2 separate regions of the Homo sapiens genome follow, and region 1 is linked to region 2. The links are contacts of gene promoters, found by promoter capture Hi-C in blood cells and fetal thymus (Javierre and others, 2016). All regions are on one chromosome and are shown on one strand. The core of a region is centred on a gene start or on the middle of the fragment in contact, and the rest is flanking DNA. Distances in the headings are between cores, read along the strand shown. Region 1 holds the start of GTF2I (general transcription factor IIi). Region 2 holds the start of LAT2 (linker for activation of T cells family member 2).

Evidence for each region. Contacts are between HindIII fragments. The CHiCAGO score rates a contact against its expected background, and 5 or more counts as called.
Region 1: a contact is called between the fragment with the promoter of GTF2I here and the fragment with the promoter of LAT2 in region 2, in 1 of 17 cell types (neutrophils). The highest score is 6.5, in neutrophils.

The regions. Positions count from the first base shown.
Region 1 is chr7:74,656,378-74,659,114 of GRCh38, reverse strand. It overlaps GTF2I (general transcription factor IIi), which reads right to left and starts at 1,397. Exons shown (of 35, transcript NM_032999.4): 1 at 1,047-1,397. RefSeq lists silencers at 238-757, 828-1,117, 1,138-1,317, 1,688-1,847 and enhancers at 1,418-1,467, 1,488-1,607. The HindIII fragment of the contact is 31,155 bases long and covers 1-2,737 here.
Region 2 is chr7:74,208,667-74,211,709 of GRCh38, reverse strand. LAT2 (linker for activation of T cells family member 2) reads right to left here and starts at 1,704. Exons shown (of 14, transcript NM_032464.3): 1 at 1,622-1,704. RefSeq lists silencers at 581-670, 1,781-1,830 and enhancers at 771-890, 2,111-2,220. The HindIII fragment of the contact is 29,775 bases long and covers 1-3,043 here.

The DNA.
Region 1 (2,737 bases), core at 148-2,647, 450 kb before region 2:
CGCATCTCCACAAATAATTTTTTTTAAAAAAAGGAGGTCAGTAGTCAGCAAGAGCTGCGCATCGCCAAGAGTGGACACTACTCCAACAGCACCCCACCTGTGAACATCCCCAGCCGCAAATCAGCGCAAATCCATAACCTAGGGAGGACAAAATTCGCTACACGAAAAAGCAAAAGCTGGATTAAGAAAAAGTGGAGAAGTCGGGGAGCGGGAAGGAGACAGCTTTTTCCATTTCATTTTCCTTCTTCCTCTGCACTCCCGTCGTCTGGGTGCTGGCTGAACCCAGACGGCTTAATTTTCATGGCCTAAAGCTGAAGTTTTCCTTCCGGTCATTGTGTTTATTTCCCCCAAAGAACAGGCCCCGCGGGGCAGGCGCGCCGGGCCGGCCCGGGACAAAGCCCACTGCGGACTCCACCTGGGAGCGGGGCGGGGCGGGGGACAGCGCTCCCGCTCCCCCGCCCGCCGCAGTTACCAGGCAACGCGCGGCCCCGCCCCCGCGCCGGTTGGCCAATCCCGCGCGTCTGCTGCCCCGGCGCAGGAGCCCCAGATACACCAGGCGAGCGCGACCCCACGACGGCTCGGGCCTGGCACCGCGCGCGCCCCCGCACCGCCTAGCCGGCCAATCAGCGCGGCGGGGCATGCGCAGCCCGCAGGGCCGCTCGCTCGCTCGCGCGCGGGATCGCACGCGCGAGGCGCCCCCCCACCGCACGCCGGTCGGCGCGCGCGCCCCTCCCCCACGCGCACTGAGGCGCGCGCGTGCCACTGTCGTCCCCCGCGACCGCGTCCGTGCCGCCCCACCCCCATCGCCTCGTTTCGGCCACTGCCAAGGCCGGCGGGGCTCGAGACCCGGCGAGGCGGTGGGGGTGGGGGTAGGGGGAGGCGGCACGGGCGCCCCCCAAGGCCCCACACCGCGCGCGGCGGGCCGCGGCTCCCAGGCCCCTGTCCCTGCAGGCCCCGGCGGGGCAAAGTCTCTAATAAAGGCCCCCGCTCGCAATGGCCCCCGAGGCGGGGGCGGGGGGCGCGGGGATGAGGCGAGAGGGACTCACCCGAGTGCGGCCGCCTCCAGGCAGCTCCGGGGCCGGGGGTGCCGAGGGGAGGCGAGTGTGGGCCGCGCGCGGGCTGCGGCCGCCGCGGAGCAGCCTCGGCTGAGGGGAGCTGGCGAGCGGACGGGAGGCGAGAGGGGGCGAGGGGCCCGTGCGTGTCGGTCGCGCTCCTGTCACCGCCGCATGGCCGCCCCGCAGGCAGGGCCTCGCTCAGCGCCTTGATCCGATCACTGGGGGACAGAGGCAGAGGCCGGGGTGACCGCGGCAGGCGGGCGGCCGCGGCTGGAGAGCGCGTGCGGGGAAGCGGGGGGGCGACCGGTGGCCCCTTTTCTCTGCTCTCCCAGCTTCTCTCTCACCCTCCTCCTCCTCCTCCTTTTTTTTTTCTTTTTTTTCTTTTTTTTTTTTTTTTTTTTTTTTTTTGTTCCTCGAAGGCGCGTTGCGCCTGCGCATCCGCAGCGCCGCCCAGCGGGAGTTGTAGTTTCGGATGCGTTCCCCGTCAACGCGGCGGCGGCGGTCGTGGACTACAACTCCCAGGAAGCACCGCGCCGGCTAGCCCCGAACCCGAGGACGAGGCAAGCGCGGCGCCCGGCCCTCTCCAGCAAGGGCTGTCAATGGAGGCGAGGGTGGTGGGAGCGAGAACATGGCTGCACCTGGGGCCTGCGCGGCCGCCCGGGTGGGGGAGGGGAGCCGGGGTGCAGAAACGGAAATCTGGACGGGTGGTGGCTCCGGCGTCGTCCCCACCGAGCGCCAGCCGCCGTCCAAGTCCGCCACTTGCTCTTGCACCCCACATTCCTTGCAAATTGCGAGGCAGGGAAGCTGCAAAAGCCGGGGAGCCCCGGGCTGGGCCGTCGCCCTCCTTGCTCTGCAAAAGGGGAGTCCTTCCGCCTTGCACCACCCTCCAGGACACAAAGAACTCCTCTCTAGTGTTTTCCAAGCTGGCCTCCAAAGAGACCGTTGCCCCCAAGTTCGGACAGGCGAGAGGGGAGGAGACCTTGTGTTTTAATTCCTCCCCCAGACCCTCCGCCTCTATCTCTCCCTCAGGATTTGGAAGGAAACTTGCAAGGGAGTGGGAGCAGAAATCCTGACTCGTAGCTCCTGTTTTGTTCTGTCAACCGCGATGCGATTTAACTCAAACTCCTCCCCCTACCACTATTTTTTGCTTCTCAACTTGAATTAGCCGGTGGGTTTTGAAAATGGAGAGACATTACTGTTCACCTAAGTTAAACTCCAAAACTTTACAACCCCGAGGCCGACGATTTTTAGATGTTTATGTAAAGCACGAGATTGAGTGGTTTTTTGATTCCCGCCCGCCCCCCCACCCAGTACCACCCACTGGGGATTCGGGCCACGACGGCCATCCTCCCCCCACCCGCCGCTTCTCGGTAGGTGGCGACCACGACGCTTTTTCCAGCCTCCAAGCCTTTGTCGCTAGCGAGAAAACTTTCCGAGCAGCCAGTCTTTTGATGTGGGTTCCAAAAACCTTTCCTTTCAATCTGGGTTCTCCGATTGGCATTCCCCATCGTCTCTCTTGCACAGACCGCACCCAATAAAGCCTCCTCTAGAATTTTCATGTTGGATTTTTTTTGAAAAATACATGGAGAGCGTAAAGCTCACCGGAGAAGCAATCTGATTACAGAAGCCTGAATTTTTGCGATTTCCCGGACAATGTCTAGGATCCCTTCGGTCCTTGCCTA
Region 2 (3,043 bases), core at 455-2,954:
CGAGGCAGGCAGATCACAAAGTCAGGAGATTGAGACCATCCTGGCTAACATGGCGAAACCCCGTCTCTACTAAAAATACAAAAAATTAGCCGGTCGTGGTGGCAGGCGCCTCTAGTCTCAGCTACTCGGGAGGCTGAGGCAGGAGAATGGCATGTACCCGGGAGGTGGAGCTTGCAGTGAGCCAAGATTGCACCACTGCACTCCCAGCCTGGGAGACAGAGCAAGACTGTCTCCAAAAAATAAAAAATAAATAAAAAATAAAAAATTAGCCAGGTGTGGTAGCACGTGCCTGTAGTCCCCAGCTACTTGGAAGGGTAAGGCAGGAGAACTGCTTGAACCTGGGAGGTGGAGGTTGCAGTGAGCCGAGATCACGCCACTGCACTCCAGCCTGGACAACAGAGTGAGACTCCGTTTAAAAAAATTCTGTGCTCTCTCTCTGTCTCTGTCTCCCTTTGTGTCTCTGTCTCGCTCTCACTTTCACTCTCCCATCCAGGTTCTGAAAGCAGGTGGGCTGAGGTGGAGGGAGCGGAGGGTGGACCCTCTGAGGCCCCCAGGGGCCGGCAGGGCTGGGCGGGGTGGGGAGTGGGGGCTGCCACAGACCACGGTTCTGCAGAGGCCAAAATAGCACTAAAGGGAAGTGGGCAGTTTTCATATGAACAACGATTGCCAAGAGCTGGCTTCGGGGAAGTTCTCGGGGCTGGGCTGGAGGAGCTACAGTGTCTGAATCCCGCCTGGAAGGACGCTCGAGACCACCCTGCCGGTTCTCCCAGCCTTCTCCGAGCTGAGCTGTGGTTGGGGACACTGGGGTTGGGGAGGGGGCAGCCTGGCTTGAAGCCCTGGATGGCTTTATCCACTGGACTCTGCTCTGGGGTCTGTTGGTTTTTTCATTTAGTTTTTAATTATATTTTTTTATTTTTATTTTTTAAAGAGATGGGAGTCTCACTATGTTGCTCAGGCTGGTCTCCAGCTCCTGACTTCAAATGATCCTCCCGCCTTGGCCTCCCCAAATGCTGGGATTACAGGTTGAGCCACCGTGCCCGGCTGGTCCTGTTGCTTTTTCCAAATAACTCTGGGCTTCAAATGAGCCTAGCTGGGAGGGAGAGAGGGAGGCGGGCGGGTGCAGGAGGGGCCTGAGCAGCCCTGGTCCCAGGGACAGAGTTGAGGGCCAGGTAGGGGGCTGGGCAGGGAGGCAGTGGGGGTTCTTCACCTGACCTGGGGCAAGACCTGGGCCCTGGCCTGTAATCCCACCGTTTTCCCCTGACCTGTGTAGGGGGTTACAGTCCCATTTCACGGATGAGGAAACCGAGGCTCCCAGGCCAGGGCAGCCACTGTTTTGGCTCTCGGCCACTTACTTCACCAGTCTCTGGCAATGATGGGACCACCCTGGGATGTCCCAAGGCTACACAGGCTGGACAGGGGAAGGCGAGGGCAAGAGAGTGGCCAGAAGCCCAGAAACAAACTGACCCCTGAAGTGCCACAGAGCCTGGTGCCAGGGTGAGAGTGGGGCTGCGGGAGGGGGCGCCAGGCATCCAGGCCTCTTCCCACCCCACCCAGTGGGGCCAGGAGCTCCTGGGGGATGGGGGACAGCCTGAGGACTGAGGCACCCCTGGGAAAGGCTTACCTGAGAGTCCAGGGTTCCTCACCACGGCCGCCCCATCCTGAGCCCGCACACCTGCCCAAGCTGATGCCAACACCACTGACACTGGCGGGCGGGCAGGGCGGGCTTCCTGCCAGCCACTGAATCATCCGTACATCCGCCGCACTGCCGGACAGGCTCAGCTATGAAGAGGGCGGTGGGGGGAAGGGAGGGGAGACGGGGGAAGGAGGCGGGAGAGAGAGAGAGAAGAGAAACAAAGTGAGAGGGAGAAAGAGAAGAAAGAGAGATAGGACCGGGCGAGGTGGCTCACACCTGTAATCCAAAAACTTTGGGAGGCCGAGGCGGGTGGATCACGTAAGGTCAAGAGTTTAAGACCAGCCTGGCCAACATGGTGAAACCCCGTCTCTATTAAAAATACAAAATTAGCTGGGCATGGTGGCATGTGTCTGTAATTCCAGCTACTCGGGAGGCTGAGGCAGGAGAATCGTTTGAACCTCAGAAGCAGAGGTTGCAGTGAGCCGAGATCGCACCACTGCACTCCAGCCTGGGTGACAGAGGGAGACTCCGTCTCAAAAAACAGAAAGAAAAAGAGAGAGACACAGCAGAGAGACACAAGAGAACAGGAAAATATGGACACACACTAAACACACACATAAACACAAAAAGTCACACAGAGAGGAAGAGAGATACACTCCAATAGACAGGGAGCAAGATAATGAAACTGAGGTGCTCCTGCAGATGGCAGATATGGAGACACACATACGCTAAAAAGACACACACAGGCAGAAATTCACACCCATGGGCCGGGCGCGGTGGCTCATGCCTGTAATCCCAGCACTTTGGGAGGCCAAGGCAGGCAGGTCATGAAGTCAGGGGTTCAAAACCAGCCTGACCAACATGGTGAAACCCCATATCTACCAAAAATACAAAAATTATCTGGGTGTGGTGGCGGGTGCCTGTAATCCCAGCTACTCGGGAGGCTGAGGCAGGAGAATTGCTTGAACCCAGGAGGTGGAGGTTGCAGTGAGCCAAGATAGCGCCACTGCACTCCAGCCTGGGTGACAGAGCAAGACTTCATCTCAAAAAAAAAAAAAAAAAGAAGAAGACACACACAGGCAGAAATTCATACCCATGGGCCAGGCACGGTGGCTCATGCCTGTAATCCCAACACTTTGGGAGGCTGAAGCAGGAGAATCACCTGAGGTCTGGAGTTCAAGACCAGCCTGGCCAACATGGTGAAACCCCATCTCTACAAAAAATTTAAAAATTAGCTGGGCATGAGATGGACCAAGACACACACAGAGAGACACACAGAAAGATACAGAGAGCCACAGACTGTCAGAGACACACACAGATGGGGAGAGAGCAAGAAACAGGGAGATAGAGGCCAGGTGCAGTGGCTTGCACCTGCAATCCTAACATTTTTGGAGGCTGAGGCAGGAGGAT